Linked DNA regions of Homo sapiens: region 2 is linked to region 1. Evidence: promoter capture Hi-C in 16 types of primary human blood cells and fetal thymus (Javierre and others, 2016). All regions are on one chromosome and are shown on one strand. Each heading gives the region's core, a stretch centred on a gene start or on the middle of the fragment in contact. The rest is flanking DNA. Distances are from core to core; before and after follow the strand shown.

Region 1 (6,043 bases), core at 2,231-4,730:
ACTTTCCTCAACTGTGGCTCCCGATTTCCAAAGACATAAGAAGTTCTCATAGCAGATTTCAAAGCCCTTCAGGAGCTGAACTCATGATTCCCAACACTTCTCACTGCATAATCTTCTTGCCTATTCTGTGCCCACAGAATTCTCTACTTTATTATCTCCCACAGCCAGACTTTTGTTTCCCAGTTTTTAATCACTCTTTAAGCTTCACCTGCTCCTCTAAGTCCCCTAATTAAACAGAGCCTGATCTAAATGTATCACTCACCCCCACAGAGCCTGCAAGATTTCCTACATTGCTACCAGATGTGTTTGAGTATGCTTGTACAGGCGTGTAGGCACAGGAACAGACACAGAGCTGGTCAATCTTTGTAGTGATTCCTTTAAATTATAAAATCATCAAGTGCAGATACCAAATCATGACTGTAAAATGTGTCTCTGGAGCACAAAGAGCTAACCTGTGTACACGACATATATTACAGTGCATTATGAAGATGTTCTCCAGAGAACTCATGTGCACCCAGAGTTCAAGTTCCCTGCTTAGTAGAAAAGGGAATAAACATGACTCTGGGTAACTTTTCAGCTCTAGTGTCATCATTCACTTAATTTACACTTTCATCTCCAAAGAATGAGAAATGGTCAATGAGTAAAGTAGACAGAAGATGTGACTAAGAAGAAAACAGAAGAAGACTGGCTTTTAAATATTTTTGCAGAACCCCCCTCTTCCTGGGAACACACAAACCAGAATAACTAGAACTCAAGTTGTACAGCCTACCAGATAGGATACTAGGCAGATCCTAACACATCATGAAAACAAACCTGAACAAAACAAAACTTGCCTTGAAAGCACCAGCCATATTCTGAGATCATAGTTAAATTTGAAAGATGTAAGCCTCCTCCCAAGACTCCAGTTGCTATGCTCAGAGAAAAAGTGGGAATGGGACACTAGTTTTTTTCTATTATTTTCGGTATAACAAAACAACATATATGGATATCAAAAGAAAAAATCCTGCTAAAATCTTAACAGGTCAAATCACTTTCAAACTTCTATATTGTACCAGTCTATAAAGTACATATATGCTATAGGAAGAGATGCGGGGGGGGGTCCCAAAAAATTCAAGAGCAAAACCTAGTTACAAAATGTTATGTTAATAACTAGCTTCCAAAAGTGAATTACAATTATAGTATTGCACACACAGAACTGACTTAATAAAGAACTCTTTCTTGCAAAATATCATCTCAACCAAGGTAGGATACAGTAAAAGGAGGAAGAAAAGTCACTGAAAACACCACTCTACTAGAACTGGGCCAAAAACATCCCCCCTAGCTGCCCAAGGCAAAAAAAAAAAAAAAAAAAATCAAAACTAAATAAAGAGCCCAGCCAGGCACGGTGGCTCACACCTGTAATCCCAGCACTTTGGGAGGCCATAGCGGGCAGATCACTTGAGGTCAGAAGTTCGAGACCAGCCTGGCCAACGAGGTGAAACTCCATCTCTATTAAAAATTCAAAAAATGAGCTGGACGTGGTGGTGGGTGCCTGTAATCCCAGCTACTCAGGAGGCTGAGGCAGGAGAATCGCTTGAAGCCGGGAGGCAGAATTGCAGTGAGTCAAGATCGCGTCACTGAACCCCAGCCTGGGCGACAGAGAGAGACACTCTCAAATAAATAGCCCAGAACTAGCTGATTATTTATGAAAAACCTAAGAACTCTGTAATTACCCCATCTTTCCAGGTTGGAAAACAACAAAGCTGTTAGAATATTAAGGTGGCCTATGAGATTAGTCCTAACAACAATCTAGTTTTTAACAATTCTTCCAAAAGAGTTCTAAATCTTTACCTCCCATTTAGTAAACAAACTTCTCAGATTCAGACTTCTGATTAGAGGTAAAGGGTATGTGACAACACCAATGAACTGCAAATTCCAATGACTATTATTCTATTAACTTCAGAAGTGGAAAAACAAGGTATGTTAAGAGTTCAAGACCAGCCTGGCGAACATGGTGAAACACCGTCTCTACTAAAAATACAAAAATTAGCCGGGTATGGTGGTGGGTGCCTGTAATCCCAGCTACTTGGGAGGCTGAGGCAGGAGAATTGCTTCAACCCGGGAGGCGGAGGTTGCAGTGAGCCAAGATTGCGCCACTGGACTCCAGATTGGGCGACAGAGCTAGAACCCAGTGGCGGGGGGATGCCATGGGTCAGCTTCCAAGGGTCCTTCATCATCTGTTTTGATGGGAAAGCACCCTATATTGCATCCCAGCTTCCTTGGGCCTTTTCTTTTCTCTAGAATATTCTTTTCTCTAGAATATCCAGGTATTCTTTTCTCTAGAATATCCAGACTGGTGGAGACAAGAATCATTCCTCAGGCTACTAGTATCCCTTATAAAAGGGAATCTTACTCAATGTCTTTGACCCTATGAGAAGACGGGCAAATCATAGGCTATAAGCTGCTTGTAACATTTGAAGAAATAAACTATTTGCCTTCTTTGTGGTTAGTGTACAGAGAGACAGAGAGACAGACAGACAGATACAAGGAATATAGATCGTCTAGAAGTAAAAACAGGGAAGACTGATAAACCAAGAGAATAGACACCTATATCCTCAAGCGTACTCAAGTCAGCTCTGAAATTCACCCAGATGTGTGGCTCATTGCCTAGACCAACATATACATCTGGTAATAATAAACACTGATATGTCATAAACAAAAAGAGTTTCTTTAACTCTACAAAGTACTAGTAATATTAAAATTTACATAAAGACAAAGAATATATATGAAATAGATTTTTTTAGATGGTATTTCAACTTAAGTAACTGTATTAAGAAATGAAAAACTGGTATTTTACTGCCTAGTTTTCAAAACACTAAAATCTTTAATTTGACCAAGTTACAAATCTGTTTTCAGTAGAGGGAGAAAACACACTGCCTCCGTTCAATGCAAAGGACAAAAAAGATCATCACTGCAAATCATAATGTTTGGGTTCATGATGAAAACAGGAAACAGACAGGCTGCCCAGGTATAATTATGGTTGTAATCTAATGTGCCTTCAGGTTCAGCCAAGAATTAAAACCCAGTGAAGAGGGTAAGCAGAATTTACTTGCCTCTACTTTGCTGCAGAATGCAACTTTTAATAATACTCCCAGCAACATGTTACATAACCAACAGTAAACAACAATCTGATTCAAACCTCATTAGTAACAACATTCTGCCACTGTCTCCCACTGAAATTAATAGCTGACTTTGCCAGAGGGGAAAGAAATCCAACACATTATCAATCTACCCATTTCTGTGGCGCCTACCACAGTGAACCAGACACGCAGATAATACTACCAGATCTGTACAGAACCTACGAAAATATTTTATTCTTTTTTTCCAGTTTGCTGCTCTCTTCCTCCTTTTAACTAGACCATATCATGTGGATGCCTTTAAAACCTGAGAGTAAAGTCAGTTGAGAAGGTTAATCTAACTTTTCTTGCTTATTTCAGCTATGATCTGAAAGGAATGGAAGCACAAAATGATGAATAAGGTATTTTTAACAAAGATACATGGGTAAATTAACAGCAGTAATGTAAAAAAGACTGAGGGAGCAACAATGTGGAAAGGGAAGGAAAGGAAGCTGTATAGGAACAATCACACAAATAATCATCAAAATTAAACTTTATAAATCTAAACATAGTATCTACAACCTTTATGAAGGTTAAGTTTTGTTAAATTGTCTAAGTTTTGCATTTTTACAATTTTCACTGTAGAGAAAAAAATATTAATAGTTACCAAAGGAATAAAAGACTAAAATAATTTGTTATACATCTGCAAATAGCTCCTTAAATTTGGAACACTAATTTCATAATGATATTTGGATCCATAAATGTGAAACTGTCACACTGAATGTAGGTACTGTTTTCCCCACAATGGATACTACTGCATTGGCATCTAGCAGAAATTGTAAGCTATTTGGAATGTTACTAAACCTACTGGGACTAAGGTTTTCAATCTTTTGTCTTTCAAATTAAAATTAAAAACTAATTCACTCTGGGCAATTCAGGTACTCTAAGGAAATTCAAGTACTCTAGTTTTAAATACGAATTTTCAAAAACGCAACCCAAGTACCCTTTCCTCTCAACTTCTGTGAGGCCAAGCCACGACCTCCACCTATTCAATCTTTGCTGCTAGATAACAACCCTTTTGGTAGTGCTAGGCAACAGGCATGATGTGACAAACCTAGACATCAAAACTTTTCCACAGAAAGATAAGGTAAACAAGATATACTTAGCGCCACACCCATTTAAATGCACAAGCAACCAAAATTGCTCCCTCCCCCCGCAACACCCCCCCCCCCCCCCCAAAGCTCCAGCTGGTCAGGAAACATTGTCTTTACAATCAAGATAAACATCTGGCTCAGGGTGTTCAGCCATTCCTCACCTACAGGCTTGCCTAAGCCCCATTCTCCAATGCCATCACCACCAGAACCGGAACATTCTGTTGGGAAGCCGGCAAACGTCCAAATACCCCAAGTATCCTCGCCCGAGTTCTGCAACCAAAAATCTGTTTTGGCTACTGAGCATGCTCAGACTTAAGACGGGCGCGCCACATGGGAGTTTTCAAAGCTTAGGCTCCAAACTCCACGTAGTAACAGCAGCTGAAAGGAGGAGAGGGGAAAAGGGGAGGGGAAGAGACTGGAATATTAATTTGAGCCCTGATATTGAAGTATAGGACCCGGCCAGCGGCTGAATATGGTGAAGGCAAAAAGACGCTGCTTTGGCATTCTCTTTGCAGCACAGAGAAGTTTACATGAAGTAGAAGAAATCCTTGCAGTGGTGAAAACTGACATGGCAAGTGGCAGAAACCAGGTCTAACTACCAGCTGATTGCAGTAGCCGGTCACAACTGCCCAGAGTGTAATTCCCACCGATAAGCGCGGATCCTTATCTTTGAAACACAAAGCGACGGCGGCACGGATTCATCAAGCCATTGGACAGCTTCGCAGTGCAGCAGCCCAGGCTGCCCGGCCGAGCACCGCAGTCCTATCAAGGGTGTGTATCCAGGGTGGTACATCCGATGAGTTAGGAAAGCAAACCGCTCCCCAGGACAGCGCGGGGTCAGGGGGTCCCCTCCAGGGCGTCCCAGACGCCTCCCTCCAAAGTCTGGGCGGTAACAGCGGGGCTGGGACGAGGGCCAGCCCCGGCCCCGCCTCAGGACGCCCCGGGCAGCCAGCGAGGCCTCCGCAGCCGCTGGGCCGCACCGTGTCCGCCAGCCGGGACCCCGGCAGGCCAGGACTCGGCCTACCTCCCGCCCGACAGGCCCTGGGTCGTTTCCGCTCCGTCCGCGGCCGAACGCCCCCGCCTCGGCCCGAGTCCGCCGGGGCAGAGCCTGCAGCCCCCAGTTCCCCTCGCCCGCGCGCGCCGGGGACCCTCACTCACTCGCGAGCCGGCTAGGCGCGCTCTCCCGACGCCGTCGCTGCGCTTCTCCTCGCTGCAACTTTATTAGCAGCTCGGCCGCGGGACACGCGCACGGCGCCCGCTCGCCCAGGACCCGGATGAGGGAGGGAGGGAGAGGGAGCCCGGGAGGACGCCCGCTGGGGTCGGCGCATGCGCGCCAGAGGCGGAGTGACCGCTGCGGGACCGAGGGAGGGGTGTCTTGCCCGGGCGGCTGAAAGAAGCCTCCGCGCCGGGCTCCGCGCCGGCCAACGCCGACTTCCGATCAGCTGGAGGCCTTCGCGTCGATGGCCAGGCCTGGGAATGGGAATCAGATAGCTCCCACCACCACCACAGTAGGCGCTAGAAGCTTCCACTAACCAAATCAGTATACATTGTAATAAAATTAAGTAATTGTCCTTGACACAGACAACTGGAGGTTTTCTGTCACATACAAAGTGTAAACAAAAACATCTTCAGATACGACTTAGCTACTTTTATTGATCTGTAATACAAATCTGAATGAAGAGTCTTCTTTCTGTGCAAAGTAGCTTCAAAACATGTTTCTGAGCATCTTACAGCTTCTTACTAGATGCAGCACTAAAACCCCTCCCACGGGGCAATCCTGGAACCCTTGAGGGC
Region 2 (6,833 bases), core at 1,710-4,209, 210 kb after region 1:
CCTCAAAAGCAAAGTTTCTCTCTGATCTTTTGCCCTTCTATCTCTCACCCCTCATTCTTCCCTGAGGCAAACCATAGAAACTAGAATTCCTCTTCCCCAAGGTAGGTCATAGAAACCAGAACCCTTTTCCCCCAAAGCCAGCCGTAAAACCTAAAAGTGTTGCTCTAACCTTCCTCTGCCTTTTTGGGTAACAGCTGGCTATAAAGAAATTAAGATTCCAGAAGGGTCCTACCCTATACCCAGGAGGAAGAAATGCTACAATATTTCTTCCTCAGGAAGAACCTAATCAGACAGACCTTGCTAGGTTTTTCCCAATCAGCCTATTACCATTAGCTCATAGCCTTTTGTTCATCTAATTACATTTCTATACACTGTCCCTGCTTCATCAAACCTAAACAAAAATCAGATAGCTCCCCTGTATCTTTGGGTCTTCGTTCTGAAGATTCCCATATCACATAAAGCTATGATCAAATAACTTTGTTATGCTTTTCTCTTGTTAACCTGTTGTCATAGGGATGTTGGCTGTGACCTATATAATGATGAGGAGGAAAAAAATCATTCCCTTTCTATTCCTACAAAAGTCATTGTTTCAAATACTTTGTGTGTTTTTGTTGTTGTTGTTGTTGATTTTGTTCTTTGGTTGTTTTGTCCCGGTTTTGTTTTTTTGTTCTTTTATGCAGAGAGGGAATTTATTCCCTATTTCTCTATCTTGGTTGTAATGAGAAATCTCTTCCTCACTTAGTAATGGCCAAATGAGCAATCCCCTTATATGGAAACATTGCAATTCTTTAACCTTCTTCTATTGCTGAACATTTAGTTTTTACTATTATAAAGTAGGCTGTGAAAATCCTGTATCTTGGTGCATTTCTGTGAATATTACTGAAGAATTTTTCTAGAATTTCAATTATTAGTATAAATATGTTGGATTTTGATGGAAAGAGCCATATCTAAAATGATGTCGGTCAGATAATTATGATATACTTTACAATACAGGAATACACAATATGCCATTTGTGATACAAAAAAGAACATCTCTGTATAGTCCTTTCAAAGAAAATATTATTATTAAGCTTTGAGCAAACAAAGATTTTGGTTGTTTAAGTCAGAATAGGCTAGGTTATGCTGAAATAACAAACACCTGTGATTTAATGCAAAAAAAAGTTTATTTCTCAGTCATGCTACACTTCTATCACACTTCAGCTAGAAGCTGTCATCCCTGTTGTGTTCATTCTGAGACCAAGGACGTTAGAGCAGCCACTGTCTGGAAAATAGTCTGTGACCATGGGAAAGAGACACTGAGGTACATACACTGCACCTTAACTTCTAACTGTATGTCAATTCTGTTCTTACTTCATTGGCCAAAGCTAGCTAAAATGGCAACACCTAACTTAAGTTAGGTAAAGAAGTGCAGTCCTACCTTATGCCTGGAAGAAGAAACCTGGAATGTTTGGGAACATCTGTACTGACTGTTACAAGTAAAATTGTGCAACAAAAATCACATCAAAAATATTTTCACACATAAAAAGATGTCTCTGTTTTGGTGGGGGGGGGTGGGATGGGAGGGTGGAGGGGGAGTGCATGTTGGACATTTCTGGGAAACCCTCAAGACAGCTTTAACTTCTGACACCAACTTCAGAGCTTGTGGATTCTCAAGATCAACCTCAAATGTGATAATTTGTCAGAAGGACTCACAGAACTCATGGAAAGCTGTTATATTCATGGTTGTAGTTTATTACAGTGAAAGGATACAGATTAAAATAATCAAAGGAAAGAGAGGCATGGAGAAGAATGCAAAAAAAAAAAAATCCATATGTAGAGCTTCCAAGTGTCCTCTTCCAGTGAAATCATGAGCAGTGCTAAATTTCTCCAGGCAACAATGTATAGCAATACACAACAGAGTACTGTCAATCAGGGAAGCTCTTTCATGTTTTGGTTGGAGTTTGGTCACATAGACATGGTTGACTGCCTGTGTGTGGTTGCTCTTTAGTTTCCAGCCTTCCCCACCCCTGAGGTCAAGGTGATATCACGTAGCCCAAAACCTCCACCATAAACTACATTATTAGACTGTCCCATGTGGCCCGAGGTTCCCAGGTAAACAAAGACACTCCTATCAGGTAAGACACTCCAAGGACTAAGAGATCACCTCCTAGGAGCTAAATGCAAAAGTCAGACCTTTGTTTGGGTAAGGTTAACTCTTTACTACACTAGGATCAAATTGTATTTGACTCAACATCATTTCAGAACTCTGCAATGAAATTGTTTATGTATCTTATTGTGAAGAAAAATACAGGTAAACTCTACCAATAATTTTTCTATTTAATAAAGAATCTTTATTTTTGGCACTGTGGTGGGATAAAGTAATGCTATACAGGCATATTTCACTTTATTGCACTTCTCAGATGTTGTGTTTTTTACAAGTTGAAGTTTTATGGTAACCCAGGATCAAGCAAGTCTATCGGCACCATTTTCCCAACAGCACGTACTCACTTTGTGTTTCTGTGTCACATTTTGGTAATTCTTGCAATATTTTGAACTTTATTATTATTATATCTGTTATGGTGATCTGTGATTTGGGATCTTTGGTGTGTCCATTGTAATTGGTTTGGGATGACACAAACTGCACCCATATTAGAAGGCAAACTTGATAAATGTGTGTGTTCTGAGTTCCAATCACTGGCTGTTTCCTCATCTCTCTCCCCCTCCTTGGGCATCTCTATTCCCTGAGACACAACAGTATCGAAATTAAGCCAATTAATAACCCTAGAATGGCCTCTAAGTGTTCAAGTGAAAGGATAAGTTCCTTGTCTCTCACTTTAAATTCAAATCTAAAAATGATTAAGCTTGGTGATGAAGGCATGTCAAAATCGGACATACGCTGAAAGTTAGGCTTCTTGTGTTAAACAATTAGCCAAGTTTTGAATGCAAAGGAAAAGTCCTTGAAGGAGATTAAAAAGTGCTACTCCAGTCAACACGCAAATGACAAGAAAGTGAAACAGCCTTATTGCTGGTATGGGGAAAGTTTTCATGGTCTGGATAGAAAATGAAATCAGCTATAACCTGCCCTTAAGCCAAAGCTTAATCCAGAGCAAGGCCCTAACCTCTTTAATTCTATGAAGGTTGAGAGAGGTGAGGAAGCTGCAGAAGAAAAGTTTGAGATTAGCAGAGTTTGGTTCATCAGATTTAGGGAAAGAAGCCATCTCCATAACATAAAAGTGCAAGGTGAAGCAGCAGGTGCTGATGGAGAAGCTGCAGCAAGTTATCCAGAAGATCTAGCCAAGATCATTGATAAAGGCAGCTACATTCAAAACAGATTTTCAATGTAGATTAAACAGTCTTCTATTGGAAGGAGATGCCATCTAGGACTTTCATAACTAAAGAGGAGAAATCAATGCCTTGTACCAAAGCTTCAAAGAACAGCTGGCCTCTTTTGTTAGGAATAATGTGGGTGGTGACTTTAAATTAAAGCATTGGCTTTACTTTAATGTTCATTTACTATTCTAGAAATCCTAATTCCATTAAGAATTATGCTTAATCTGCTCCTTCTCTGTTCTAGAAATATGACAAAGCCATCTGTTTACAGCATATTTTACTATTTTAAGCCCACTATTGAGATCTACTTCTCAGAAAAAGAGATTCCTTTCAAAATATTACTGTTCATGGACAGTGCTCACCCAAGAGCTCTGATAGAGATGTACAAGGAAATTAGTGTTTTCAGGCCGGCTAACACAATATCCATTCTGCAGCCCATGCATCAAGGATTGATTTCCAAGTCCTACTATTTAAGAAATATATTTTGTAAGGCTATTGCTGCCATAGATAGTTATTCCTCTGATATATCTGGGCAAAGCAAATTGAAAACCTACTGGAAAGGATTCACCATTCTAGATGCTATTAGGAACATTTGGGCTTCATGGGAGGAGGCCAAAGTATCAATATTAACAGGAGTTTGGAATAAGTTGATTCCAGCCTAAATGGATGACTTTGAGGGGTTTAAGACATCATGGAGGAAGGAAGTGCAGGTGAGGTGGAAACTGCAAGGGAACTAGAGTAAGAAGTGGAGCCTGAAGATGTGACTGAATTGTTGCAGTCTCACAAGAATTGAACAGATGAGGAGTTGCCTGTCATGGGTGGGCAAAGAAAGTGGTTTCTTGAGATGGAGTCTATTTGTGGTGAAGATGCTGTGAACATTGTTGAAATGACAACAAAGGATTTAGCATATTCCATAAACTTAGTTGATAAAGCAGCAGCAGGGTTTGAGAGTATTTATTCCAATTTTGAAAGAAGTTCTAATGTGGGTAAAATGCTACCAAACAACATTAAATGCTACAGAGAAATCTCTTGTGAAAGGAAGAGTCAATCCGTGTGCAAACTTCACTGTTGTCTTATTTTAAGAAATTACCACAGACACCCCAATCTTCAACAACTACTACCCTGATCAGTCAGCGGCCGTCAACATCAAGACGAGATCCTCCACCAGCAAGAAGATGATGACTCACTGAAGGTTCAGATGATGGTTAGCATTTTTTTTTCAGTCAAGCATTTTTAAATTAAGGTACGTAAAGATTTTAAACATAATGCTCCTGCACACCTAGACTACAGTATAGTGTAAATATAACTTGTATATGCACTGAGAAACCAAAAATTCATACAAATTGCTTCAATGAGGTATTTGCTTTATTGCAGTGGTCTGGAACTGAACCCACAATATCTCTGAATCATGTCTGTATGTGGCTTAATATGTAAACTGCCCACTTCCGAGAGAAAAGTTCAGGTACATTTTGCACATGTTTTCCCTTGGACACTGCAAAACACCTTGCCAGCATAAAAAGACACTGTAAGATTTCCCTCTGTTCTAATTCATTTCATTTAAACCTGCAATGGATTAATTATGTCCTGAAGATTGATCATATTTTTCCTTTAAGAATTTGTTTTTTACTATTTAAAATATAAATAGCCTATTATCTACATCAGTCAAGATTTCTTGCCTGTGCAAAAATCTCTCAACATTTTTGAGATACAGTTTTTACTTCATATTTCTTTAGATTAAGTTTTCCCTAAAGGAAATTAGTAAAGGAGCTATTTAACTTTACTTCAAGATTAAGGCTATTCATTTTAAAATCACAAGTCCCAGCTAGTGTGTCTCTAAATGTAGAAGAGCTTGCTGTTCTTTGCATTCTATCCACAGTATGAAGCCCTCGTAAATGGGGAATTATGAAATAAGCATTTCTAAATGGGTCAGGCTTAGTCATCACTGACAACATTGATTCAAAGCCATTACTCTGTGTTGAAAAGTGAATAAAGTCAAGGGCATTGTATGGAGCTCAAGATTTCATTAACAACATGTTCTTCTGGTTTATGGTGGACTTTTTTTGCACAGCTTCATGGATCTGAAGTTATCACTTTTTAAAATAAGGAATAAAAATAATTTTTAACCTATTGCTTTTTACTATTGCTCTTCTAGTAAAGCTTTCACATTGCAACATATTTAAAATAAAATGTAACACTGAATCATGTTTTCCAACGTTGCAGATTACTTGGTTTCAAAAGCTGAAATTCAAGGAAAATAATTCTACAAATATATTTTGTTTAAAAAGAAGCAAGTGATTTTATTGCCATGTTTAACTGAAAATTTCATAGGAATACTTTGTTAATCTCGAGATAATTTTCTGTAGTCATTTTATTTATGAAAGACAAAACTCTGTATTATTACTTTGATTGTCAGCATAAGTCTGGGATCAAGAGAAACAGGGTTAGTCCTTCAAAATCACCTAATAAAAGTAGGTTAGTACGTCATGTTTTATAGATGTCCTGGTGATCCGTCATTTTAAAGTGCATTTCAAAAAGGAGTCATTACCAAAAAAAAATTTCATAGTGTTTTTAGCAAAAGGAAAATGTTAACACAAAGATATTTCTTATAAAGAACAGGGAACTGTTTCAAGCTACTAAATTTTGATTTGTTTGTTTATGGCATGTCCTCCCATGTTAATTTACAACCTATGAAAACTGACATATTTTAAGATTAAAAATTAAGAACTTAAAATTAAGTGGTTTTGATTAATTTGATTTACTGGTTCTAGAAAGAAAATGCTCTGAAGTGATTTTTTAAAAAAGATTATAGTTAATTGAAGGAATACTCTGTATTACCAATTACCCTAAAATCATAAAATAGAGTACTTCCCAGAGGAAATAGAAAAGAGCTACAATAGTTAACAGATATAATATTTAAAATGCCATAGGATAGTGGTATACTGCCAGCAATCCCACCAATCAAGTGCCAACAGAAATAAGGCAACTCTTTATAAACAAGGTATTGAGAAGACTTTAAGAAATCAGACTTACTGATATCAACAAGGTTTGCCAGTGAAGGACTATGCAGCCAATCCAGGACAGGGAACAGTGCAAGAGAACAAACTGTGGGCCCCACACTTATACGTACAATGCAGCTAAGTGCTTGCAACAATAAATATTTACTACTGGTCATATCATCTCTGAACACACCAGCACCTACCACCGTGTCTTCTAGATGGTGGTGTTAAAAGTTATTACAAAAATAGAAATTAAAATAGAGGACAGGATGTCTGACTTTTACAGTTCCCAGTACGGACTCCCTGTTTTGAGTAAAATAATAAAGAACAGCACTTGTAGGGAGAAAGGCATCTTCAGATCCTTCACGTGCATTTGTATTTGAACCTTACGAAAATGGGATGAGGTGTGCAGAGCATATACAAATAAAAATTTAAGTGAAACCCACTTGCCTGACTATATGAATATCTGGCACTTGGAATGATGTGGGCACTAACTTGGGCTTTGAGAAAAAGTCCATTCTTTAGAGA

What was found. Contacts are between HindIII fragments. The CHiCAGO score rates a contact against its expected background, and 5 or more counts as called.
Region 2: a contact is called between a fragment that was not itself captured here and the fragment with the promoter of SMAD5-AS1 in region 1, in 1 of 17 cell types (M1 macrophages). The highest score is 5.0, in M1 macrophages.

Annotation. Positions count from the first base shown.
Region 1 is chr5:136,132,327-136,138,369 of GRCh38, reverse strand. SMAD5-AS1 (SMAD5 antisense RNA 1) reads left to right here and starts at 3,480. Exons shown (of 2, transcript NR_026763.1): 1 at 3,480-5,020. SMAD5 (SMAD family member 5) reads right to left here and starts at 5,525. Exons shown (of 8, transcript NM_005903.7): 1 at 5,408-5,525. RefSeq lists a silencer at 5,172-5,811. The HindIII fragment of the contact is 4,393 bases long and covers 205-4,597 here.
Region 2 is chr5:135,919,994-135,926,826 of GRCh38, reverse strand. No RefSeq gene overlaps it. Among named protein-coding and RNA genes, the nearest start is that of IL9, 28 kb to the right of the region's middle. The HindIII fragment of the contact is 234 bases long and covers 2,843-3,076 here.